Linked DNA regions of Homo sapiens: all the other regions are linked to region 5. Evidence: promoter capture Hi-C in 16 types of primary human blood cells and fetal thymus (Javierre and others, 2016). All regions are on one chromosome and are shown on one strand. Each heading gives the region's core, a stretch centred on a gene start or on the middle of the fragment in contact. The rest is flanking DNA. Distances are from core to core; before and after follow the strand shown.

Region 1 (3,886 bases), core at 107-2,606, 3.2 Mb before region 5:
AGTGAAACCTGGTTAAAAAAGTTCTATTTCTTCTATTATGAACAACAGTGGAGGGTTATAGGAAAGGAAGGAGCACTGTGGGATGCCTTAATTTAAGGGAAAAGTGAATTAATGGGATAGAGAGAATTCCTTCTGCTCTAATGAGAGTGCCTACCCCACCCTCGTTATTGTGGTAACATAACTTAGTAGTCTGACATAGGGCTCTGGATCCTCCCATCCCTAGGAATTGTACAGTTTAAGAATATTGGAGCAAGACACCTGTGGCACTCACCTGGCTGGTGTGGAGCCAGTATTGCAGCTTGGATTTGTTTTTGATTCGTGGTAGCAGCAGCCTGTATACTATGTGCTCACCAATGGTGGTCAAAATGGACAGACCAAATCCAATGCACAGCAGCACAAAGAGCCCAGAGAAGTGTTTGATGCCCATTTGCAAAGTCTGTGACAGAATAGGAAAGAAAAGGCCATGAATACAATGATATACCTGGCCCAATGCTTGTGTACTCTTTGGTTTTCAGATGGATATTCATTTTTTCTGGACTCAAGGACAGCTGGAGACTATTTCTCCCTGTGTGTTCTGTGACCTTCATTATACATCATGAAAGAAATTCAGCCAGGGTTGGACTGAGGGCTGCCGAGGAGCACCCAATGCCTAGAGGGTGAGAAATAAAAATAAAATTAAAAGCTCTCCAACCGACTGAACGAACTTTCTCTTGTCCATGGGGACCCCGAAGAAACCTTAAAAACTGAGTTCCTGGCCTTGATTGGATGGGAGGTCTGTCATGCCTCAGTTGTCCCTTCCTTATTAACCTTTAGCCATAATTCATTCTTAAGAAGTAAGCAAAAGCTAGCTCTGGAAAACAAGAAACCGATAACTCATTGCTTTATCACCTTTAGCTAATCATCTAAGGCCATAACCAGATTCTCCCTCCCTCTTTGCAGTTTCAGTGTGACAGCTCACCAGTTTCCCAATGCACCCTTCCTAAAAAATGACCACAATCTCCAGATGGTTTTGGCCAACTTGTGGGGGATGCATAGTGAGGGTTTTCATGTCCTCTGCTTCACATTTGGACATCAGAAGACCAAAATCTCCACCCTCGGGTCATGCTAACACCACCATTTTTTGAACATGGGCCCAGGAAGAGGCATGAAGCTCAACTGCACATGTGCATGTATCTCTTTTCATAAATATTTATGACTCCTCCTATAGCTTACTCAATACGTATACTCAGCCACCCCACTCAGCATAAATTCCTGTTCCCTTTTACCCCTCCCTTGAAGTGCTTGCTCTCAGCTTCTGCTGAGGCTATGCTTCCCATTCTGCAGGATGGCTGGCCTGCTGGCTGCAACCCTTTATGAGAACTAAAGATCTCCTGGCCAAATTTATGAAGCTCATGATTCTTCAGTTGACAGGCGCTATTCGTATGTTAATCCACTGTGCAAATGGCCCCTGGAGTTGTGCCAAGGCCCTGGGTCTGGACCACCTTATGGTCTCTTAGAGATTGAGAGAGATAGAGATAGAGAATTGAAACAATTTAATATACCTGGTAGCTGTCAAGGAAAGAACGTCCCTCAGGGAAGAGAATGAGTAGATTTAAGGGGAAAAAGATGGTGAGTTCAGTAACTTTGGAATTTGGATCTGGTAGGGAACATGGAAATCATCTAGTTCATTTACAGAGGAGGAAAGTGAGACCAGAGAAGTGTAGTAAACCGAGCCAAGCCACAAAAAAGGCATAGAAGAGAAAGAGAAGGAACTTAATGATATTTATTGGTTGCTTACTTTCTGCCAAGTGTTTTACATTAAAATAGATATATAACGTCTATTTTATAACTAAGGAAAGTGGAGTTACTGCAACTTTTAAGTGGCAAAGTTGGTCTTTCAGTCCATTTCTGTTCAGCTCCAAAGCCTGGGCTCTTTCTGCTCTACTGCTATATACCAAAACAGCAGCAGTTATAGCAACAATAGTAGTTACAATAAATATCTGTGGCCAGCACTTTGCTAAGTGATTTGTGTAGATTAAGAAAACCCTCACATGTACTCTAAAACAGCCATTATTTAGCCATTGACATCAATGACAAGAGTCAATCCCGTAGAAGTAAAAATACATAATATATTGAGTTAATACTAGGTGCCAGGCACTCTTCTGCGTATCATGGGATAGAGATAGAAGGAAGTTATATCTTTCCTTTTAAACAGCTTGAGTCTAGGGAGAAAACAAACATATACCTCCATGATACATTTGATCCATGCTTCCTGGGATTTGTGGGGAAGCTGGTTCATGAGATAACATTTGAATAAGACAGGCAGGATGGGGAGGTTGGGTGGGGAAAGTGAACATACTAACCTGAGGGTAGCATAAACAAAGGAAAAAAGACATGACTTTCCTGGACAGTGGTATAGTGTTGTGAAACTGACTGCTGTGGCTGAAGGAAAAGTATACAAGGCATGAATAGTGCCATAGTTTGAATGTATATGTCCCTCTCAAACTCATATGTTTAAACCTAAACTCCAAGGGTTGGTATTAAGAGCCCTTATGAAGGGATGAGTGCCCTTATAAAAGGGCTTGAGGAAGCTAGCTAGTCCCTTTTGTTGCCCTTCCAGCCTTTCACCATGGGAGGACACATCATTTGTCCCCTGTGGAGGACAAGCAACAAGATGCCATCTTGGAAGCAGAGACTGGGCCCTTACTAAGACAATAAACTTGGTGGTGCTTTGATCTTGAACTTCCAGCCTCCAGAACTGTGGGGAATACACTTCTCTTCTTTATAAAGTACCCAGTCTCGGGTATTTTGTTATAATGGCACACATGGACAAAGATATGCAGTGAGAGAGAAACAGGGCCACACTAGGCAAATCCTCAGATGCCGTACTAAGGAGCCTGGGTGTTATCCCTTTGCTGGAAGCTTTTGGTCATCATTATCATTTATAATTATTTAGCATTGAATATGTGTAAGGCACAATTCTGAGCACTTTATCAATGTAGCAACTTGCCTTATCTTTATGACAATTTATAAGGTAAATACTGGTATAATCTCCATTTTATAAGTGAAGAAACTGAGCAACAAAGAAGTTCAATAACTTGTCCAAGGTCACATAGCTCGTGAAGGTTAGAGCTGGGATTCAAACCCATGCCGTCTGTTTTCAGAGCCCACAGTCTTCACTGACTCATTTGTCTGATGTGAATGATCCTCCCATTCTCTTTAAAGGTTTTCCTTTCATTCTCCCCACCTCTCTCCACCTCTATTCTGGAGAAACAGCCGGCCAGGCATGATTCAGGCATAGGGTGCATAGGGAAGTCTATCTGGGGGTCAGGACTCAGAAGAAAAGGTCGGAGATTTCAGGCTGTGTTGGAGCCTAGCTCAGGAAATCTCTTTCCCTCCATGCCAGTACTGCAGGCTGTGAATCAAAGACTAGTGTTAGGGTCCCTAGAAAAGGAAAGACTAGAGCTGAGCAGGGGCTCGGAGACTGGCACAAGGCAGGAAAATTGGGCAGATGACTTGGGAATGCAGGCCGAAGCCCAGCCCTACGAAACAAGGAATGCTGGTCTGGGAAAGGGTTTGGTAGGGAAGCACGTTGGACCCCAAGGGCTTCAGAGGTACTAGGGATTTTCCTGGGACATCTCTGTGTGCAAATGGTGACTAGTTATGTAAACCTGACATGCAGAAAGTACATACAAATGTGTCTGAAAATAGTCCTTGACCTAGACCTATTTTAATGTGTACAGGATATGGCTATAATATGAAGGATTCAGTGAGTTATTGCTGTGGATTAAGAACAGACTGGGGGAATTTAGTTTGGACTGTAACATCATCAAACATTCAGTTAAACTCTGAGCAGATGGGCCCTGCTTTTTTATAAGACACTGCCAAGATGAGGAGGAAAGATGTA
Region 2 (3,586 bases), core at 451-2,950, 3.2 Mb before region 5:
TATCTGGTTTCATTTAATTACATTTGGATTTCAGCTATAGTATTTGCAACTCTAATTTTAAACATACGAACTTGGTGTAATAAGTTCTATGGATTTACCTACCTGCTTTGTAAATAGTAGTGTACATTTTGGTTTTTAAGCTTCAGAAGTGCCCCTAACATAGTATTTCAGAATATATGATATGAGAATATGTGATAAGAGCATATGATTCTTGCTTTGTTATTCAGGCTGGTCTTGAACTCCTGGCCTCAAGTGATCGGCCTGCCTTGGCTTCCCAAGGTGCTAGGATTACAGCGTGAGCTGCTATACCTGGCCAAGGATACACAGTTTTAAAATTTGACACTATAGGCCAGGCACGGTGGCTCACACCTGTAATCCCAGCACTTTGGGAGGCTGAGGTGGGTGGATCACCTGAGGTCAGGAGTTTGAGACCAGCCTGTCCGACATGGTGAAACCCCATCTCTACTAAAAATACAAAAATCATCCGGGTGTGGTGGCATGTGCCTGTAATCCCAGCTACTCTGGAGGCTGAGGCAGGAGAATCGGCTCGAACCCTGGAGGCAGAGGTTGCAGTGAGCCGAGATCGCGCCACTGTACTCCAGCCTGGGCGATAGAGCAAGACTCCGTCTTAAAAAAAAAAAAAAAATGACACTCTAGATGCTAAATTAAAGTATAGTTCTTCTTCCCCAGATAATCTGATAGTGGAGGAAGCAGTGCAGGAGCTGAACTCTTTCCTCGCACAGGAGAATATGAGGCTACAGGAATTGACAGATCTTCTTCAGGAAAAGCATCGCACCATGTCTCAGGAGGTACTTAACCAAAAAGGAGAGATGGCTGTGTCTAGTGGGCTGTGGCAGATGTTGACTTACAATTCTGAGCACCTCAAAGATTACCTTACTCTAGAAGGCCTATCATATCATAGGGGATTTTGTAAAACACAACACAACTCCAAACCTCCAAATAATGAATTACCCTAAATATAAAAGACTGTATAGTGTTATTGAGGAATGGCGTGGTAGAAATTCCACAGGGAATGGGGAAGTAGAAACTACTGTATTGATGATGTCCTAGGAATTTGAGGAATGTCAATTTTCAGTCTAAACTTGGGTGCAAATAATGCCATGATTAAACCATGCCAAGATTTGGACATTTATTTATTTACACAAAATGATCAAGATAAAGTGATGATAGGCCTTAAATGACTTTTCTGATACTTCTGATGATCATTTTGATTTAGTTCAAAATATATTCTACTGGAATTTGCCCCACCTTAGTTTGGCCACTGAATTCTTATGCTAATTAGTAATTTAGTAGTTGCCATTTACTTAGTGCCTAGAATTTAAGCACTTTATGAATGTTATCTCTAATGGCAAAACAACTCCCATTTTATTGCCAAAGAAACAAATTCAAAGAGGTTAGTGATTATTCTGAGGGCACATAGCTAGAAAGTGATTGAGCTGTGTTGTGACTGTAGGTCTGTTTGACTTCAAAGCTCTTGTTCTTCATATGCCTTTGTTTACTAAACCCCAGTGTTAAGGTCCATGCTGGCCTGGTTGCATGAATATCATCTGGGGAATTTATTAATTCATATGGATTATCCTGGACCTTCAAAGGGGTTAGAATGTAGTAGCCCTTATAAATAAACTGGAGTCTAGTAAGAAAATAGAATATTTTTATCATGTTTTAAGACATTGACTAGGTGCTACCAAGATGGAGAGGTCTTCCTTTTCTAGCCCTTTGACAAATCTCAGATAGTATTACTAACCTGGAGGGCAGTTGTTTGCTAAACTGTGATGTCCTTGTTGGCTCTCATGGCTGGCTGTTGATGCTGCCTGTCAGCTGGGTTAATTGTCTACTGGGATACCTGCAGTTTGCCTCTCCATCATGGTAGTCTCAGGATGGTTGGAATTTTTACATGTTGGCTGACTTCTTCCAGTGAGCATCCCAAGATCACCAGGTAGAACCTTCATGGCCTTTCTGATATAGCCTCAAAATTGTGTAGTGACATTTCCATTGGGTCTCTAAAGTTGACCCAGATTCAAGAGGAGGGAACAAAGATCCCACCTCTTGTTCAGAGGACTTTCAAAGGATTTTTGTGTCATGTTTTAAAACCTAGCACAAAGGGTATATATAGATTAATGTGAACTTGTAATAGTTTAGTAGTTAAAATACTAAATAGTGTTAGCTGGTGTATAGCTCCTAAATAGAGTATCTGACTTTAGATTATAGTATAATCTATACTGTATTGTATCTGACTCTAGATTGCTCTGGGGTGAGCTTAAAAAAGAGTATGGAAGTTTTCTTTTGTTGTGAATGAATGGATTACCTTTTGTGGGACTGTGGAGAGAAATTTGGGGGTAAAAATGGTTTTTTTGAAAAAATATTTATCTTACAAAACAAAAGATACTATTTATTATCTCTTAAAAAATTACAAAATTTTTATGAGTTTGTGGTCTGTCCAGAGAAATGGTGCTTTTCAGAGGTAGAAAAATTGTTGAATCTTAGGTGGTCTTTTCTTTGTGTGAGAGTTCTTATAGACTTTAGACTTAAAGTTTGCATGATTATAACTGACACAGAATTGTTGGAGGAATCCGTGATTTCATTTTTGTAATCATGCATTGGGAAGAGGGTGAAGCATCTTCTATTTGCCTCTTTTCTATAATTACTCATAAGCAAGGGTTAATATTATGGAATTTGGTCTTTTTTTGCTATATGTTTCTGAATGTTTGTCTTTGGGATGTAGTTCTCCAAGTTGCAGAGTAAAGTGGAGACAGCCGAATCACGAGTGTCTGTCCTGGAGTCCATGATTGATGACCTGCAGTGGGATATTGACAAAATTCGAAAGAGGGAACAGCGACTCAACCGACACTTAGCAGAAGTCCTAGAACGGGTCAGTGCTGTTTTATGGCTTGGAGACTAGAATCATTTTAAGGAGTGTTCTCAGGAAGACTCACCTTGGGGCATGGTATTTGAGGAAAAAATCTCATCCTTTGAAGGTACATTGGTTATAGACTGAAATCTTAAGAGTCTCTCACTAAAGAATCTTTGTGTTCTCTGTAGGTGAATTCCAAAGGTTATAAGGTGTATGGAGCGGGGAGCAGTCTGTATGGCGGCACAATCACTATCAATGCTCGGAAGGTAAAATCAGTGACTCAGGACATGTTTTGGACTGTATGTCAGCTTTCATGCTTAGGTACTTAGGACTGTGTTCACAAGTGACATCATGGGGTTTTGCTGGAATAGCGAATCAGTGAAGAAAGGAAGCTTAGAAATGATTTAAGAAGAATACTTATTTATTCTCTATTTTTCTGCTTCTCTGCAGTTTGAGGAAATGAATGCAGAGCTTGAGGAGAACAAAGAGTTGGCTCAGAACCGTCTCTGTGAGCTGGAGAAACTTCGGCAAGACTTTGAGGAGGTCACTACACAAAATGAAAAGCTGAAGGTAGGAACGCATCCCTGAAGGGCAGTAAAATCAGACGTTCTGCTGATCAACTCACGTATATACATAGTTGTGAATCTGCGTATTCATGAGGGATAAGAAAAATGTAGACAAAATCCAACATCCTTTTATGATAAAACTCTTAAC
Region 3 (3,465 bases), core at 233-2,732, 3.3 Mb before region 5:
AGGAAGTTTTTTAGTTTGTTGCGGAGAAGTATGATATGGTTATCAATAAAACTTCCAAGCCTAAAAATATATTACATTTACATAAAGTTCTGTGAGGGATATGGAACCGAATAATGTAAATGTTCTGAACTTTAACATGTAATTTTCTTTAATGGGTATTTAATCATTATCTTGTTTAAGATTCCATGATTTGTACTTAAAAGGGTCACCAATGTTAAAACATACTGGATATGACATCCTTTGGAATTATTTACATTTATAATAGAACATAGATACTCATTTACAATGCGAAAGTGTATATGGTCTCTCAAAATTATTTTTGAGAAGAATGCAGGTTTTTTTGTTTTTGTTTTGTTTTGGTTTTTTTTTTTTTTAGAGATGGGGGCTTGCTATGTTGCTCAGGTTGGAGTACAGTGGCTGTTCACAAACACAGTCATTGTGCACTACAGCCCCAAACTCCTGTGAGTGACCCTCTTGCATCAGGCTCTGGAGTAGCTAGGACTACAGGCTCAGGCCACCACTCCCAGCTTGAAGACTGCCGTCTTAAGGGTACTTAATAATTTTTTTTCAGTGGCTATATATATTTTAAATGTTTTATCTGTCAAAAAGAAAAAAAAAGAACAGATGTTGAGTATTATCAAAGTCTTTGGGGCCATTACAAATAATTTTTTTGTTTTTCACTGCTAATATGAAGATTTTGATATCATTAATTACTTTATATCATTTGTATCCTTGGAATATTACTTGATTATAAACCAAGGTCCCATGGAATTCAGTCCTGCCATGAACACATGCAAAGTCATGTAATCAAAGTAATGAAAAAATAATTTAAAAGCATATTTGTGTTTCTCAAGGGACGTTAACAAAGATCAGATTCATAAACAGAGTAACACTTCTTTATACCCACTTTTCTTTGATTTTTCACTCCATAAATACTCCAGAGTCTCTCACTATCTCACGCCCTCCCTTTCGTCTCTTCCAAAGGTCACCCAGATAAGTCTTTAGAACAGATTATTTTCGGTACTCCTTCCCTGTGCCACATCACATCTCTTTTCCACAGGAAATTGAAGCCAACACTAGTATTTCTGCTCACAAGCTGCACCAGGGCTCCTGAAAACAGCTGGAGGACATGGAAACTCTATGCCTCCATTTGTCTGTAATTCTTTACAGAGAGAACTTAAGACCCTCTAAGAAATGTAGTTGTTGTCTCACTCTGGCTGCTTTTCTCAAAAAATCCTCTTGGAAAATTCCTTAAGAATAAAACCATCTATCTTTTTGCTGGACTGAAATTTCCTTGGCCAAGCTGTATTATCATCTCTATATATCATATACATGAGATGATATATATATGTACATAGATATACACACACACACACACACAGATATGTTTTGGCTGTGTCCCCCCCCAAATCTCCTCTTGAATTCCCACAAGTGGGAAGGACCTGATGGGAGATAATTGAATCATGGGGGCAGGTCTTTCCCATGCTGCTCTCATAGTGCAAATAAGTCTCATGATATCTGATGGTTATCTAAGGGGCAGTTTTCCTGCACAAGCTCTCTGTTTGCCTTCTGCCATCCATGTAAGATGTGACTTGCTCCTCCTTGCCTTCTGCCATGATTGTGAGGCGTCTCCAGCCACGTGGAACTGTAAGTCCATTAAACCGCTTTCTTGTATAAATTACCCAGTCTCGGGTATGTCTTTATCAGCAGTGTGAAAATGAACTAATACAGTAAATTGATACCAGTAGAGTGGGGCGCTGCTGAAAACATACCTGAAAATGTGGAAATGACTTTGGAACTGGGTAACAGGCAGAGATTGGAACACTTTGGAGGGCGCAGAAAAGACAAGAAAATGTGGGAAAGTGTGGAACTCCCTAGAGACTTGTCGAATGGCTTTGACAAAAATGCTGGTAATGATATGGACAATGAAATCCAGGCTAAGGTGGTCTCAGATGGACATGAAGAACTTTTTGAGAACTGGAGCAAAGGTGACTCTTGTTATGTTTTAGCAAAGTGACTAGCAGCATTTTTCCCCTGCCCTAGAGATTCATGGAACTTTGAACTTGAGAGAGATGATTTAGGGTATCTGGCAGAAGAAATTTATAAGCAGCAAAGCATGCAAGAGGTGACTAGGGTAATGTTAAAGGCATTCGGTTTTAAAAGGGAAACAGGGCATAGAGGTTCAGAAAATTTGCAGCCTGATAATGTGATAGAAAAGAAAATCCCATTTTCTGAGGAGAAATTCAAGCCAGCTGCAGAAATTTGCATAAGTAACAAGGAGCCAAATGTTAATCACCAAGACAAAGGGGAAATGTCTCAAGGGCATGTCAGAGGTCTTCACGGCAGCCCCTCCCATCACAGGTCGGGAGGCCTAGGAAGAAAAGTTGGTTTCATTGGCTGGGTCCAGGTCCCCCCTGCCCTGTGCAGCCTAGGGACTTGGTACCCTGCATTCTAGCCACTCCATCCATGGCTAAAAGGGGACAATGTACAGCTTGGGCTGTTGCCTCAGACTTTGGAAGCCACAAGCCTTGGCAGTTTCCATGTGGTGTTGAGCCTGCAGGTGCATAGAAGTGAAGAATTGGGGTTTGGGAACCTCTGCCTAGATTTCAAAAGATGTATAGAAATGCCTGGATGCCCAGGCAGAAGTTTGTGGCAGGGGTGGGGCCCTCATGGAGAACCTCTGCTAGGGCAGTGCAGAAGGGAAATGTGGGGTCAGAGTCCCCATACAGAGTCCCTACTGGACAGCTCAAGTGGAGCTGTGAGAAAGGGCCACCATCCTCCAGACCCCATAATGGTAGATCCACTGACAGCTTGCACAGTGCGCCTGGAAAAACTGCAGACATTCAACATCAGCCAATGAAGGCAGCCAGGAGGGAGGCTGTACCCTGCAAAGCTACAGGGGCAGAGTTGCCCAAGACCATGGGAACTCATCTCTTACATTAGTTTGACCCAGATGTGAGACATGAAGTCAAAGGAGATCATTTTGGAGCTTTAAGATTTGACTGACCTGCTGGATTTCGGACTTGCATGGGGCCTGTAGCCCCAATGTTTTGGCCAGTTTGGAATGGCTGTATGTACCCAATGCCTGTATCCCCATTGTATCTAGGAAGTAACTAACTTGCTTTTGATTTTACAGGCTCATAGGCAGAAGAGATTTGCCTTGTTTCAGATGAGACTTTGAACTATGGACTTTTGAGTTAATGCTGAAGTGAGTTAAGACTTTGGAGGACTGTTGGGAAGGCATGATTGGTTTTGAAATGTGAGGACATGAGACTTGGGAGGGGTCAGGGTGGAATGATATGGTTTGGCTGCATCCCCACCCAAATCTCATCTTGAATTTCCATGTGTTGTGGGAGGGACCTGTTAGGAGGTAATTGAATCATGGGGGCAAGTCTTTCGCATGCTGTTCTTGTGACAGTGAATAAGTCTCACAAGATCTGATAGTTTAAAAAGGGGAATTTCTCT
Region 4 (3,559 bases), core at 841-3,340, 3.3 Mb before region 5:
TATATAATGACACACACATACACATACACACACACACATGAGTCAGATAGAATGGGAAAGATGGCACAGCATTTTCTTCCACCCTTGACCTATGTTGGAGCCTACAACAGAGTGTACTCATGAGAAAGTTTTTGAGATTCTGGATGTAAGCTGTACTGATTGGAAGATCAAGTGACAAAACAAAGCAACAGTTAGAAAGAGGGTCATTGTTTCCACTTTCCCCCAGGACCAAGTACTGACCTGTAAAGTAGATATCACTAGTATTCACCAAAATCTGTTCTTCTCCCTTTTCATATACATGAACCTCTCTGCACTTTTTAGCCCTCTTGCAGTTAAAGTAGAGCCATATTGATTAGTTCCAGCATTTGCAGCCTGAAGCAAAGAGCTAGTGAGTAACCACCATCAAGTTATCAATTTAAACCTGCTTAGTTGACCAGGGAGGCTTCATGGAAAACAGCTGTCCTAAAGGGTTGCCCAGATCTCTGTTAGATTTTGTGTCAGCAAGAAATAAACTTTTATCATGGTAAGCCACTGAGAAGACACTGGGTCTTGCTGCACCAGTCTACCACAGCCTGGAGAACTGATATTTGGGGAAGCATTAAAAAATAGTACCCCTGGCATAGGCACTGGTGGTTTCAAAATAGCTACTATAAGTGGGGGTAAAAGAGAGGCCTTTCCAGTTACTTTGCAAGGCAGTGTGGAGCCAGAACAGGAAAGGAAAGATAAAATCGATGCTCTGTAATGACTGCAGCTAGCAGACTTCTTTGTGCATACATACATGTAAGGTAGCTTTTTGCAGACTCCCAGAAATATTTAGTAGGACTTTTGGGGCTTGAGAAAGAGTGTTATCAACAAAGGAAACTCTGCATTATTTAATCTTAACATGACTGCTTACATCCAAAGACTGGCGACACATGGTGTCTTTAGGTGCTAACTGAGCTGTGGGATCGATTTCATTAGGGAGAGGTCACAATTCTGTTTCTAGTTGGCAGGAATGATTTTAGTTCCTGTCTTCATCCTTATTCCTTTCTTGAAGAGTAAAGGGTCACACATTGCTCAAATCTCTAGAAATTTCAGGATCTCCTGGGATTCATGTCAGACCCCCCTATATCTTTTCTGGGATACTGTGTTTTTTTGGAGAAAATAATTTAATTTCATTATCATGGTTTTTCTTCTTGAAACTGAATACAGACAGGAAAATACTTTCTGATGCAGATGTATTAACATTTGCATGCCAAAAAGAGCTTCAGAAATTTACAGCATGGTTTATACTATACATCAAAATCCATATGACTACTTTCTAAAATTGTGAATTTATTTTCAAAAAAATAAAAAGCTCTTCATGGGCCCCAAATCATCAATTCAAGACAATTCCACAATAGGTTGAAAATAAGCACAAGCTTCCGTTGCTATCTGGTCAATCCCATGTCCAATCTGAATTTGATTATCTGTATTTCCTTGAAAGTAGCAACAATGATCTTATTGTTTCCATGATGTTTCATGTTCAGCTGTTCAGATGTCCTATCGTATGAGAAAGAAAATGCAATCTAATGGGCCGCCAGGAATCTAAGAAGCTATGCCTCTCAAAGCCCTTTGATATCTTCAAACAATTAATCTTGTAGCAGCTAGAATATATTTTCAGTAATGTGCCTAACTTAACTATATGACTATATTAAAATAAATCTCCATGTTACTTCAATTTCTAAATAAAATGGCATGAGCAGAAAGGATATTAAAAATCTTGATCACTTCCCCCAGCAACAGGGCAGTTGCTGTTCACATTTTACCCAAGAGCTATCTATGTGCCTCTTCTTCCTAGCCAACAAAAGCCCCATCTTGTTTAGATGGTGGGTAGGGAGCCAGTGAGATCATAGAAGATGGGCCCCTATCCAAGCCCCAAGAGAATTAATTGCAACTGGGCTTGTTCTGTTTTCCTTTGCCTGTGATTGGTCTAGGAGTGGGCATGTGGCCTATTTCTGGCCCTATGAAGCAAAAGGAGAGGTCTGCTGGGAGACTTCCTGAAACTGCTCTTCCTGGAAGGAGGGAAACAAACAAAACAACAACAAAAGAACTTTACAAGAGAAAGCTTTTTATCCCAGCCCCTTCCTACTCCCATTGAATGCAGCTCTGTGAGGACACGATATTTGAAGCTGCAGTAGCTGAGGTGGCAAAAGATGGCAGAACAGAAGAGCAGACAGAATCTGGGTCCTAGATGACTTCATTGCACTGCTGCAACTGCCTTCTCCAGACCTCTTGCCAGGTGAGAAAATTAAATGTCATCATTGCTTAAGCCCCTGGGAGACTAGATTCTGTTACTTGCCACTGAATGCATCCTAATGCTGTAACTGTCTCTTGCACTGAAACCAACTTGCAAAATTTACAGCACAAACTCTGCCCATGTATGAAGAGAATGTAAAAAAGCATTGCAAACATCTCTTTTGGGAAAATAAATGGATAACACCATTTTTTCTTTTCATTTGAGTTGTCCTATCTTTGGCAAGTGAAAGCTGAAAAGCAGAATTTTCACATATAAATCAAATTTCCCCATTTCCCTCCTGGCAAGGGGTAAGAAACTCTTAGCCCATACATGCTTTCTAATTAGTTAAGAATTGGATTTCAAGCCCTACTCTTATTGTTCGGTTTATTCTGCTTAGTTCATTCAGATAAGAGAATCCTTGAAGGTAAGGTTTAGGGTAGTCAAACAGTTATGAACAATGGTTGTGAATTATGACATATTCCAGCATTTTGGAGCAGCAGCTTAGTCAGCTATCCTCAGAGCCAGTCTGAGGACTCTGACCAATACCAGTGTGGGTTGTCTAAACAAATTAATTTTTAAAAGTAAGGAATGTGTCTTTTCAGGCCTGTGGTTCCCTATGGAAACACTGACAAGAACAGGTGGAAGAAATATGTGGTCTTCGGTTAAAAACTCTTCAGGGTTCAAAGAAGGGCACTCTCACATCATGTGATGGGTGAGCTCTAGTCATTCTGTGAGAGGAACTCCAGGAGACCAGATCCAACTCGCAATCAGCTATAGTGAAGTTATGATATGAGAAGCACCAACTTGGCACAAGACTTGGGAAAGGCAATGAGGCAGCAGGCAAGCTTTAAGGGATGACACTTACCTTGAGGGAGCAAGGACAAGTTGTGACCTTCCCAGTCCTCTCTCCATTTGCAGATCAGCAAGCTTCTGTCAGCAAGGAGGGGTGGACAATGAAACTGGGTTCAGCTTGATTTGTTTTTTGAGACAGGTATGGCAAGGGGCTGCCAACAAGGTAAGTCATCTTTGGACAAGCCAAGTGCTTTGGGAAACAATTGTTTCTGAAAATAAGTGTTTGTGTCAAACATTCTCTTTGTTAGTAGGAGACATTTTTGTTGGATCATGTTGTCCTCAGCAAAAGAGGTTGCAGAGAAGTTAAGGAAGTTGGGATAACTTAGAGTCTCAGTGCTTTGGGGCAATTTACAGACAGCACTGTGTGATCCTCCCATCTCAGGACTTACATCATGTTGCTAACTCCCTCACTGGGGGCCATGGTTCTGAAAGGAAGAAAGCATGTCTTAT
Region 5 (3,571 bases), core at 661-3,160:
CCGGGTAGAAGCCTGGCTCCCTAATTCACTAAGTATAGAAGAGCTACCTGCCAACTAGAAAAACCCACTTTGTATTCTTATAAAAAATAAACTCCTATAGTGTTTGAGTAATAATACACTTTTTTGAGTGTTGATTTACAAGAGCTATTTAATCTACCCTAATTAATATATTATTGAAAGATACTACCAAATGCTGAGTGTTCTGGCCTTCTTCCCTCCTCAGCCTCAGGAAACTGGCAGCAAGGCTTTTCTCACACAGATAAGATACTGGAAGTTTCCCTTCCCTAACACTGACTACACAGATAAATAACTTGCAGATAACAGTTTGGGGGGAGGGGATACAGCCTTCAGTGAAATACCCAGGTCAGATCACCTCACAGTGAAGCCCACTATTTGAAGAGATTCACCTGTGCTTACAGTGCTTTTAACATGTTTTTCTCACTCCAAAATATATTTTTAATGTAAACATCAATAAACGCAGGAAGGAAAGTGTATTTTGAGGGAGTGGTATGAAGAAACCTAAATCCTAAATATCCAAGTCAATAGCTAGAATCCTGACCACTTTTAGAATTCCACTAGCACCTTTATTCGTATCTTACTTTATTTTTCTTTATATTATTTGACAATCCCTGATATATTTACTCTTCCTTTTTTTATCTGTTTCCTCCATCCTGGATGTTCCAAGAGGACGGGACTTTGAATTTTGCTCAATTCTGTACCCCAGTTTCTGGAAAAGTGCCTGGAACATGGAAGGAATTTAGTAAATATCTGTTGAATAAGTAAATGGATTGGCAATTACAGGGTTTAAAAAAAAAGGTCTAAGAAAATAATTTACTCATATAGATCCAGTCCTGATACAAATGATTTTTTTAGTCTTGCATGGTTACAAATAGATGTCTCTCTTCTAGAAAAACTGAGGCAACCCTTCCGAAATAACTAATTTTAAAAAGTCTCCCTTCCTTTGAACAGACAATTCCAAAGCTCTTCCACAAGGCACAACCAATACAACCCAGGTCATGGCCCTGCAATCCCTCCCTAGTCCTCATGATGTAAGCAATATTACATTAATGTTTACAATAATGTAATTATTAGCAAGAATAATGTAAACATTAATATAGATTACTGTAAATTAATAGTGTAATTAATTACTGTAAATTAACATAAGCATTATTAGATGCAGGAAGACAAGTGAATTTGGGGGCAGTGGCATCTATGAGACATAAATCCTCATCTGCCACAGAAGGAAGTCAACACATACTATCCATAACTGAAAATGCAATAAACAGCAGAAAACACTACTTACTTAAAAATACAGAAACAAGCATTAAATGAAACAGCTTGAAATGTTGAAGGTGGTTACTCTGGGAACCAACACTCCCGGACTGGGAGGACTAGACCAGGGTATGTTTAACTTTGACTTTTTCATTTCAGGCTCGATGCTGCCATTTCTCTGAGCTCGTGGAAAATTTAATCTAAATCTTAATTAGGAGCCTTCTAAGATGGAGAACACATTCATTGCAGAGAGGTCAGGCTCAAATACACGTCTATCACAACATCTAAAACTTAACTCGGAAAAAACCTCCACGATTTTAAATACAAAGCACTGCACATGCACGCACTCAACACCTCTCCTTCTTTCCCCATGGTCAACACACCCACAACCCCTGCACATTTACCAATCTACACAACTGAGCACTGGAGCGAATGAGGTGAGTGAGGGCCCAGAAAGTTGAAGCAGGAACGATCCGAGCCTTCAGTTAATCCTAACGTCACCTCTAACGTTTGGGGTAAGAACGTTTCAGGAAACCAAGGGGGAACCAACGCTCAGCACAGCAGAGAAAGACACCAAGCTACGGGACCCGCCGCGCCTCCCGCGCCGGGGTGGAGCTGACCCCGCCGAGCCCCGCCCCAGCCTGCGTCTGCCAATGATCCAGGAGCCGCTCCTTTCCACTCGGGAAACCTTCAGAGGAGTCTCAGAAAGGACACGGCTGGCTGCTTTTCTCAGCGCCGAAGCCGCGCCATGCTCGTCCTCAGAAGCGCCCTGACTCGGGCGCTGGCCTCACGGACGCTGGCGCCTCAGGTACCGGCCACGGGGGTACCCAAGCCTTCACCCGACGGGAGGGGAGGGGCGGGGCGGGGAGTGTTCCGGGTACGTGCGAGCAATGCGCATGCGCTCTCCGCCACGCGCGCCCAGACCTGGGGCCCCGGTGAGGTTCTAGCGTGAGCCCCGGAACCCCAAGACAGGGGTACCCGGAACGCGCGTGAGGAGGAGGCCGCTGCTAGGGGAATACCCCCAGCCGGGGTCGTCTCGCGGGCAGTGGTGGTCAGAAGGCTTTTCTAGCCTGGATGCCACACCCACCGGGACACTCCCATGGCGCCGGCTGTTTCGTTTTTGCTGCCCAGCTATGTCGCGGCTGCGGCCCAGCGAGCGCTCCCATGTTGTCACCTGGCGCTGTGGAGCCGCGGGTGGAGTCGTAGCTTTCCAAGCCACCGCCCTCTCTAGACATCAGGTTGAAGGAGGGAATTGTCAACCAGCCGCTTGCCACGGAACCGGCCTCCCCCTTTTAAATGAAGCACACAACTTCCGAGCATTTCGCGGAGACCCTTGAAGAGGAGGCCCAGGGTCCCGGTGGGGCTGGACCCTGCCCGCCACCCGCGCTTCGTGTGGTCGCTCCCCCAACCAGGCGGGACCGGAGCCTCCTATCAAACCGGACGATGACAGACAGACTCTTTTAACCTTAGATGAGAAATGGACAAAATGGAGCTTGTGATTCTGCCCTAACTTTCGGGAGTGGCCTATTCTGTGGCTTCAACCTAGAAATTTCTTTTCCTTTTGATGTTTAGGACTTTACTCCTTTCTGAAGGGGCAGGATGGGAAGGGGATTAACCTGTCCTAGAGACAGACTGAGGAGCACTAAAGAAGAGCAGCTCATGTCCATTCACCCCGGGTTAACAATGCAGTTTTTACCCTAATGATTCTCCAGTGGGGCAGGGCCAGGAATGACGTCCTTATGGCATGATTCCAAACTTTAAGTTTTTAGAAATGTCCATCAGTTGTTCTCTTTTAAGTGAAGTGGAGGTCGTTGCTGGTGGGAATGATCCCTAACTTGGAGATAAGGGAGGATGGACGACTCATGATTTCTGCCCTAGCAGCTAAAAGTCATCCCTGCAACAAAATTCTTAACTCCCATCCGGCTCCCCCACCATACCCGGCTCCCCTGCAGTCTTCCTTCTCTGGCACCACCTGTCCACATCTCTCTCCCTCTCTCACTGTAGGTTCCCTACTGTATATTAATACTGCCCAAAATTGTAAAAATGTGTACCTTTGATCAACTATTTTATCCTCCAAATACAAATTCCTCGAATCAACCTGAAATCCATTTGTCACAAATGCCCCATTGGCCTATCTCCTGATATATTTTATTATAATAATTTTGAAATTATGGATACTAGGCACTTGCTTCTTGACCAACATTGTTACTAGAGTTTGGTTTAAAAGCACAAAAAGAGTGTCCACAAAAGGCAGGGGCAGCTGCAGCTGTTTTTGTTGGTAGGCTTAGTCATTTGAGCA
Region 6 (3,599 bases), core at 803-3,302, 3.2 Mb before region 5:
TAGCTTAGCTCCCACATATCAGTGAGAATGTTCTCATATGATGAGAATGTTCTCATACAATATTCTCATACGATGTTTGGTTTTCCATTCCTGAGTTACTTCACTTAGAATAATAGTCTCCAGTCTCATCTAGGTCTCTGCGAATGGTGTTAATTCATTCCTTTTTATGGCTGCATAGTATTCCATTGTATATACATACCATAATTTATTTATCCACTCATTGATTGATGGGCATTTGGGTTGGTTCCACAATTTTTCAATTGTGAATTGTGCTGCTATAAACATGCGTGTGCAAGTATCTTTTTCATATGACTTCTTTTCCTCTGAGTAGATACCCAGTAATGGGATTGCTGGATCAAATAGTAGTTCTACTTTTAGTTCTTTAAGGAATCTCCACACTGTTTTCCACAGTGGCTGTACTAGTTTACATTCCCACCAGCAGTGTAGAAGTGTTCCCTGTTCACTACATCCACGTCAACATCTACTGTTTTTTTGATTTTTTGATTATGGCCATTCTTGCAGGAGTGAGGTGGTATCACATTGTGGTTTTGATTTGCATTTCCCTGATCATTAGTGATGTGAACACTTTTTCATATGTTTATTGGCCATTTGTATATCTTCTTTTGAGAATTGCCTATTCATGTCCTTGGCCCACTTTTGTTTGGTTTTGTTTTGTTTTGTTTTTAGATGGAGTCTTGCTCTGTCACCCAGGCTGGAGTGCAATGGTGCAATCTCCGCTCACTGCAACCTCCACCTCCTGGGTTCAAGCGATTCTCCTGCCTCAGCCTCCTGAGTAGCTGGGATTACAGGTGCACACTGCCATGCCCAGCTAATTTTTTTGTATGTTAGTCGAGACGGGGTTTCACTGTGTTGCCCAGGCTGGTCTTGAACTCTTGAGCTCAGGCAATCCACCTGCCTCCCCCTCCCAAAGTGCTAGGATTACAGGCATGTGCCACCATTCCTGGCCATGTTTGTTTGTTTCTTACTGATTTGTTTGAGTTCGTTGTAGATTCTGGATATCCTTTGTCAGAAGTACAGATTGTGAAGATTTTCTCCCACTCTGTGGGTGGTCTGCTTACTTTGCTGACTGTTCCTTTTGCTGTGCAAAAGCTCTTTAATTTATTATTTACTATATATATGTATATGTATGTATATATATACATACATATATATATACACACATACATATATATACACACACAGACACACACATATATATATAAAATTATAAGTTTAGGTCCCAGCTATTTATCTTTGTTTTTATTGCATTTGCTTTTGGGTTCTTGGTCATGAAATCCTTCCTTAAGCCAATGTCTAGAAGGGTTTTTCCAATGTTATCTTCTAGAATTTTTATGGTTTCAGGTCTTAGGTTTAAGAGCTTAATCCATCTTGGGTTGATTTTGTATGAGGTGAGAGATGAGGATCCAGTTTCATTCTCCTACATGTGGCTAGCCAATTATCCCAGCACCATTTGTTGAATAGAGTGTCCTTTCCCTGCTTTTATGTTTTGTTTGCTTTGTTGAAGATAAGTTGACTGTATTTGGCTTTATTTCTGGATTCTTTATTCTGTTCCACTGGTCTATGTGCCTATTTTTGTACCAGTGCCGTGCTGTTTTGGTGACTATGGCCTTATAGTTTGAAATCAGGTAGTGTGATGCCTCCAGATTTGTTCTTTTTACTTAGTCTTGCTTTGGCTATACAAGCTCCTTTTTGGTTCCATATGAATTTTAGAATTGTGTTTTTCTAATTCTGTGAAGAATGATGGTGTTATTTTGATAAGGATTGCATTGAATTGTTAGATTGCTTTTGACAGTATGGCCACTTTCACAATATTGATTCTATCCACATGAGCATAGGATGTGTTTCCATTTGTTCATGTCATCTATGATTTCTTTCAGCAGTGTTTTATAATTTTCCTTGTAGAGGTCTTTGGATCCTTGGTTAAGTATATTTCTAAGTATTTTATTTTATTTTTATTTTTGCAGCTATTGTAAAAGTGGTTGAGTCCTTGATGTGATTCTCCACTTGGTCACTGTTGGTGTATAGAAGAGCTACTTATTTGTGTACATTAATGTTGTATCCAGAAACTTTGCTGAATTCCTTTATCAGTTCTAGGAGCTTTCTGGAGAAGTCCTTAGGGTTTTCAAGGTAAATGATCATATCGTCAGCAAACAGTGACAGTTTGACTTCCTCTTTACCGATTTGGATGCCCCTTATTTCTTTCTCGTGTCTGATTTCTCTGGCTAGGACTTCCAGTACTATGTTGAAGAGGAGTGGTGAGAGTGGGCATCCTTGACATTTTCCAGTTCTCAGAGGGAATGCTTTCAACTTTTCCCCATTCAGTATTATGTTGGCTGTGAGTTTGTCACAGACGGCTTTTATTACATTAAGGTATGTCCCTTGTGTGCTGATTTTGCTTAGGGTTTTGGTCATAAAGGGATCCTGGATTTTGTTGAATACTTTTTTTGCATCTATTGAGATGATCATGTGATTTTTGTTTTTAATTCTGTTTATGTTGTGTATCACATTTATTGACTTCTGCATGTTAAACCATCCCTGCATCCCTGGTATGAAACCCATTTGATCATGGTGGATTATCTTTTTGATACGTTGTTGGATTGGGTTAGCTACTATTTTGTGAAGGATTTTAGTGTCTGTATTCATCAAGGATATCAGTCTGTAGTTTTCTTTTTTGGTTGTGTCCTTTCCTAGTTTTGGTATTAGGGTGATGCTGGCTTCATAAAATGAATTAGGGGAGGTTCCTTCTTTATCTTGTGGAATAGTGTCAAAAGGATTGGTGCCAATTCTTTGAATGCCTGGTAGAATTCTGCTGTGAATCCATGTGGTCCTGGACTTTTTTTTGTTGGTGATTTTTATATTACCATTTCAATCTTGCTGCTTGTTATTGGTCTGTTCAGGGTTTCTAATTCTTTCTGATTTAAGCTAGGAGGGCTGTATTTTTCCAGGAATCTACCCATCTTTTCTAGGTTTTCCAGTTTATGTGCATAAAGGTGTTCATAGTAGCCTTGAATGATCTTTTGTATTTCAGTGGTGTCAGTTGTAATATCTCCTGTTTCATTTCTGAGTGAGGTTATTTGGATCTTCTCTTCATTTCTTGGTTATTCTTGCCAATGGTCTATCAATTTTATTTATCTTTCAAAGAACTAGCTTTTTGTTTCATTTATCTTTTGTATTTTTTGTTTGTTTGTTTCAATTTCATTTAGTTCTACTCTGATCTTGGTTATTTCCTTTCTTCTGCTGGGTTTGGGTTTGGTTTGTTCTTGTTTCTTAGTTCCTTGAGGTATGACCTCAGAGTGTCTGTTTGCACTCTTTTGATCTTTTTGATGTAGGTATTTAGGGCTATGAAATTTCCCCTTACCATTGCCTTTGCTGGATCCCAGAGGTTTTGATAGATTGTGTCATTATTGTCCTTCATTTCAAATAATTTTTAAATTTCCATCTTGATTTCATTTTTGACCCAATGCTCATTCAGGGGCAGGTAATTTAATTTCCATGTATTTGCATTGTTTCAAAGGTTCCTTTTGGAGTCGATGTTCAGTTTTATTCCACTGTGGTCCAAGAGAGTGCTTGATATAATT
Region 7 (3,823 bases), core at 491-2,990, 3.2 Mb before region 5:
CTAATGATGGTTAGTCTCAGTGGAACAAATAAGTATAACACTGTTGAGATTGTAAGTTCGCTTTATTCCTTCAACTTGGGCTAACATTTTGCCTCACTGGCAATAATAGGTGATACAATGGTGTCACTTATTTGTACATCCTACATAGGCAATGGAGGCAGCCCAGCTTGCAGATGACCTCAAAGCACAACTGGAGTTGGCTCAGAAGAAGCTACATGATTTTCAGGATGAGATCGTGGAGAACAGTGTTACCAAAGAAAAGGACATGTTCAATTTCAAACGAGCCCAGGTAAAAGCAGTTGTCTTTTCTTGTCACCTTTTAGGTGTTTTCTGAGGTCGGAAGTGACCCATATCATGAAAGAATCATTAGTCCAATGTATGTCATTTCCTACTAGACTTGAGGAAGTTTGTTGAGGGAAGAGAGTAAGTCTGTTTTCTTCACTGCCATATCCTCAGACTCTTTTATGGTGCCTTGCACCTAGTAGGCACAAAATAAATATTTGTTAAATTAATGAATTAGTAAATTGTTAAAGAAGTAACAGCATAGCAGCAGTAGAGGATTTTCAAGTTCTTGTATAATGTCTCTATTTTTGTCATGCTAGCTGTTTCTCATGATGTCTTTCTGTCTTTATCCGTAAGTCTCTGAATTATTTTAAACCGTTCTACCTTCAGCTTAAAACTAATTACTATAAAACAAAATAGACTGTCCTCTAAACTCTTAGATGTGTTTTCACAGGACTGAATTGGTAATAGATGCAATTCTAATTTGGGGATATAATTATGGTTGCCTCTTCTGAAACAAAAGAAAATATCCTGCCATTTGCAGTTCTCTACATTTCTACAAGATAATTGACCATAAAAGGATAGAAAGTCCCCTCTTTTCACAACAGAAAACTCAAGTCTATTATTTTTCTCAAAAATGATAGATTTGGGTAAGTGTGTCTAATGGGTATGCTATCCTGCCACAGGAGGACATCTCTAGACTTCGCAGGAAGCTGGAGACCACAAAGAAACCAGACAATGTACCCAAGTGTGATGAGATTCTGATGGAAGAGATTAAGGATTACAAGGTTAGAAAAAATGCCTTAGTGATTAGTTTTTTGTCAAAGCTTTAAGTGGCCTAATAGACTGGGAGAATAATTTGCATGATAGTAACCAGAGAATGGTTTATTTTGGAGGTTGGGGGGAAATGATGCTCTTTTTTTAGTGCCTTGTGGGTTTTCTTCTTGGTTGTGTAGTATATGAGAGCCATTTGGATCATAAACTTTCATGGTTGTTCAAACTCTGACATCTTTTCTTTTTAGGCACGCTTGACCTGTCCGTGCTGTAACATGCGTAAAAAGGATGCTGTTCTTACTAAGTGTTTTCATGTCTTCTGCTTTGAGTGTGTGAAGACACGCTATGACACCCGCCAGCGCAAATGTCCCAAGTGTAATGCTGCTTTTGGTGCCAATGATTTTCATCGCATCTACATTGGTTGATCTAAGTCAAGAGAAGAAGAGGAGCTGGCTAGTCAGGAACTTATTCATTAACCACCAAACCTCTACCTCTTCTCTCCTTGACTGTCACCTGTAGGACAGTTTATCAGTCAACTACCTTTCCTCCAGACTTTACTTCCAGGCTCTCCTCTTCAGTAGCTGGATGACTTTAGCAGAAAGGACTGGTAAATACAAGCCTTGGGTTTCAGAATGAATTAGAAACAAATAACTCTTACTGTCTTCCCTCCCAGCTTTGTTTATTTTGTGCTTTTAGACTTTTCAGTGTTTTCTTTTTCCAGCCCACTGTATAAACTTGGATTGTCCATTCCTCCTGAAGAAATCAAGTTGGTATTTTTGATGTGGAAAAGGGAACAAAAGTGGAAACATGGCTACTTTTGGGGAGTGATATTTTAAAAAATAAGTTGTCTATGGGCACAAAGTTTTCTTCATTTGTGTAGCAAACTTCTTGTGAATGTGGATTACAAAATGGTATAATTGTGCTACTCTCCCCTGGGTGGTTTGCAGCCCTAATGAAATTATGTCTAGGATGATTCAGTCTATTTCCCATTTACTAGCAGAGTAACTTGTTAAGATCAGCTGGCTTTCTTGTTAAAGTTATTTAAGTTTTGAATGCTCTACTACTTCAAGTCTTTAAATTTCTTGAGACTAGAATAATTTTAAATAATATGACCCTTTGTCTTCTAATGAAATAAAGATTGAAGAGGTTGAGTCAGGACTGAGCTGGTGAAGAAATCTTGTGGGTATTCTGGAAATTTGATACGGAGAGAACTTGGTGAGCTATGAATTACTCTCAGTCTCCTTTTTACAGGGTTGTTGTGATCCCTCTTTTCCAGAAAATTCTGTGGAATGTTTCTGTAGGACTTTGTTCTCCACAAGCTTGAATTAAAGCAGGATTCAGTTTGCATTTGTGTTTATGGTTTTTCTTTGAAACTTTTGTCTTTATTATTACAAGTTGATTTTATATCTGCTGTTATAGAATTAAATTTTCTTGCATGGAAATAATCAGCTTAGGTTAAGAGGTTGGCCTTGTTTAGAGTATTTAGATCTTTGCTTAATTGAAGCACTTTTCTCCCAATTCTTTTATTGAGTCTATTCTATGGAGAAATTATACCTAAAAGATTAATTTATTTGACTACTCAGTTATCTTTCATAGTTCATTAGGTGGGGTAAGAGACTATAATTTGTTTTTTGGGGGAGCATATTGCTGCCTCTAGCTTTAGGGTGAGAGTTCTTGCATTATGTGGTGGGTTTTTTTTTTTTTTTTTTGAGATGGAGTTTTGCTCTTGTCGCCCAGGCTGGAGTGCAGTGGCACAATCTTGGCTTACTGCCACCTCCGCCTCCTGGGTCCAAGCAATTCTCCTGCCTCAGCCTCCCGAATAGCTGGGATTACAGGTGCTCACCACCATGTCCAGCTAATTTTTGTATTTTTAGCAGAGATGGGGTTTTACCATGTTGGCCAGGCTGGTCTCAAACTCCTGACTTCAGGTGATCCACCTTCCTTGGCCTCCCAAAGTGTTTTGATTACAGGTGTGAGCCACCATGCCCAGCTGCATTATGTTTTATAATAACCAGCAAACCAGAGGTTTCATAAATCTCTGGCAAGGGGTTGTGTAAAATGGATCCTTCTTGATCACCACCTGTCCTAGAAGACAGGTAAGAGCAAATTCTGTGTCTTTCTGTGGTCACCAGCTATAATCAGCAGGATTTGCACTGAATTCCACAAAGTCATGTGGTATGAATTAAGCAATGAGTCTAATTGAAGAATCTTACTAGGTCATCAAGAGAGGTCATGGGTCCCTTGATCCCCCTGCTCAGCAAACACCCCCACCCCCACAGAACCATCATGACAGGATTAGCTCCTGCTTCTGGACACAGTGAGTTTTCATTTAGTAATAGGACACTTTCCCCTTGCTTCTTGCTCTTCTTATAGGGTAAGCTTGAGCATAACTTTGTTGGTTGGGTGCAGATATACTGCTTGGTCAACAGGTGGTTTGGGCTTGGCTGTTGGCTGTTTGTGACAATTGGCTGAGAAAGCCAGCTGCCCAGCACCAGGGGACCATAGGGCCTGTGGAATGTTGTGGAGGAAACCACTAGCCCCATGGGAAGTTGGATTTAGAGGAAGTTCCTCTAGTTGAGATGAGCAGGGAGCCCCTGATCCCAACTGGCTTGAGGTCCTGGCAACACAAGTTGAGCTCTCACAGTCATTTTCAGATAACAACCAAAAATGATGGTGATTTTTTGGCAGTTGGCTTCTCTCACTACAGAAGAGGTCAATGAATGCGCTTTAGGAATACTCCCAAACTGCATACCAAATTTTATTTGTA

Evidence for each region. Contacts are between HindIII fragments. The CHiCAGO score rates a contact against its expected background, and 5 or more counts as called.
Region 1: a fragment that was not itself captured here is called in contact with the fragment with the promoter of NIPSNAP3A in region 5 in 12 of 17 cell types (M0 macrophages, monocytes, M2 macrophages and 9 more); the score reaches 27.7 in M0 macrophages.
Region 2: a fragment that was not itself captured here is called in contact with the fragment with the promoter of NIPSNAP3A in region 5 in 14 of 17 cell types (total CD4 T cells, activated CD4 T cells, naive CD8 T cells and 11 more); the score reaches 34.4 in total CD4 T cells.
Region 3: a contact is called between a fragment that was not itself captured here and the fragment with the promoter of NIPSNAP3A in region 5, in 4 of 17 cell types (non-activated CD4 T cells, total B cells, naive CD8 T cells and 1 more). The highest score is 8.7, in non-activated CD4 T cells.
Region 4: a contact is called between the fragment with the promoter of TMEM246-AS1 here and the fragment with the promoter of NIPSNAP3A in region 5, in 5 of 17 cell types (total CD4 T cells, M0 macrophages, naive CD4 T cells and 2 more). The highest score is 8.8, in total CD4 T cells.
Region 6: a fragment that was not itself captured here is called in contact with the fragment with the promoter of NIPSNAP3A in region 5 in 2 of 17 cell types (naive CD8 T cells and total CD8 T cells); the score reaches 6.8 in naive CD8 T cells.
Region 7: a contact is called between a fragment that was not itself captured here and the fragment with the promoter of NIPSNAP3A in region 5, in 11 of 17 cell types (total CD4 T cells, non-activated CD4 T cells, total CD8 T cells and 8 more). The highest score is 21.0, in total CD4 T cells.

The regions. Positions count from the first base shown.
Region 1 is chr9:101,578,925-101,582,810 of GRCh38, forward strand. GRIN3A (glutamate ionotropic receptor NMDA type subunit 3A) reads right to left here. Exons shown (of 9, transcript NM_133445.3): 7 at 272-436. Among named protein-coding and RNA genes, the nearest start is that of PPP3R2, 14 kb to the right of the region's middle. The HindIII fragment of the contact is 3,086 bases long and covers 1-2,899 here.
Region 2 is chr9:101,544,077-101,547,662 of GRCh38, forward strand. It overlaps RNF20 (ring finger protein 20), which reads left to right. Exons shown (of 20, transcript NM_019592.7): 6 at 691-809; 7 at 2,744-2,890; 8 at 3,061-3,138; 9 at 3,323-3,442. Among named protein-coding and RNA genes, the nearest start is that of RNF20, 12 kb to the left of the region's middle. The HindIII fragment of the contact is 3,124 bases long and covers 139-3,262 here.
Region 3 is chr9:101,450,148-101,453,612 of GRCh38, forward strand. The region is part of intron 2 of LOC105376184 (a long non-coding RNA gene); the gene reads left to right. Among named protein-coding and RNA genes, the nearest start is that of ALDOB, 16 kb to the left of the region's middle. The HindIII fragment of the contact is 6,251 bases long and covers 1-3,465 here.
Region 4 is chr9:101,466,349-101,469,907 of GRCh38, forward strand. TMEM246-AS1 (TMEM246 antisense RNA 1) reads left to right here and starts at 2,091. Exons shown (of 3, transcript NR_121576.1): 1 at 2,091-2,260. The HindIII fragment of the contact is 1,016 bases long and covers 2,085-3,100 here.
Region 5 is chr9:104,745,773-104,749,343 of GRCh38, forward strand. It overlaps NIPSNAP3A (nipsnap homolog 3A), which reads left to right and starts at 1,911. Exons shown (of 6, transcript NM_015469.3): 1 at 1,911-2,080. The coding sequence starts at 2,021. LOC107987105 (a long non-coding RNA gene) reads right to left here and starts at 1,867. Exons shown (of 5, transcript XR_007061705.1): 1 at 1,677-1,867. RefSeq lists a silencer at 1,805-1,894 and an enhancer at 2,315-2,474. The HindIII fragment of the contact is 7,745 bases long and covers 1-3,571 here.
Region 6 is chr9:101,518,492-101,522,090 of GRCh38, forward strand. It overlaps a transcript of PGAP4 not described here. Among named protein-coding and RNA genes, the nearest start is that of RNF20, 14 kb to the right of the region's middle. The HindIII fragment of the contact is 5,520 bases long and covers 1-3,599 here.
Region 7 is chr9:101,560,942-101,564,764 of GRCh38, forward strand. It overlaps RNF20 (ring finger protein 20), which reads left to right. Exons shown (of 20, transcript NM_019592.7): 18 at 149-289; 19 at 969-1,070; 20 at 1,305-2,403. The coding sequence ends at 1,481. Among named protein-coding and RNA genes, the nearest start is that of RNF20, 29 kb to the left of the region's middle. The HindIII fragment of the contact is 1,266 bases long and covers 1,108-2,373 here.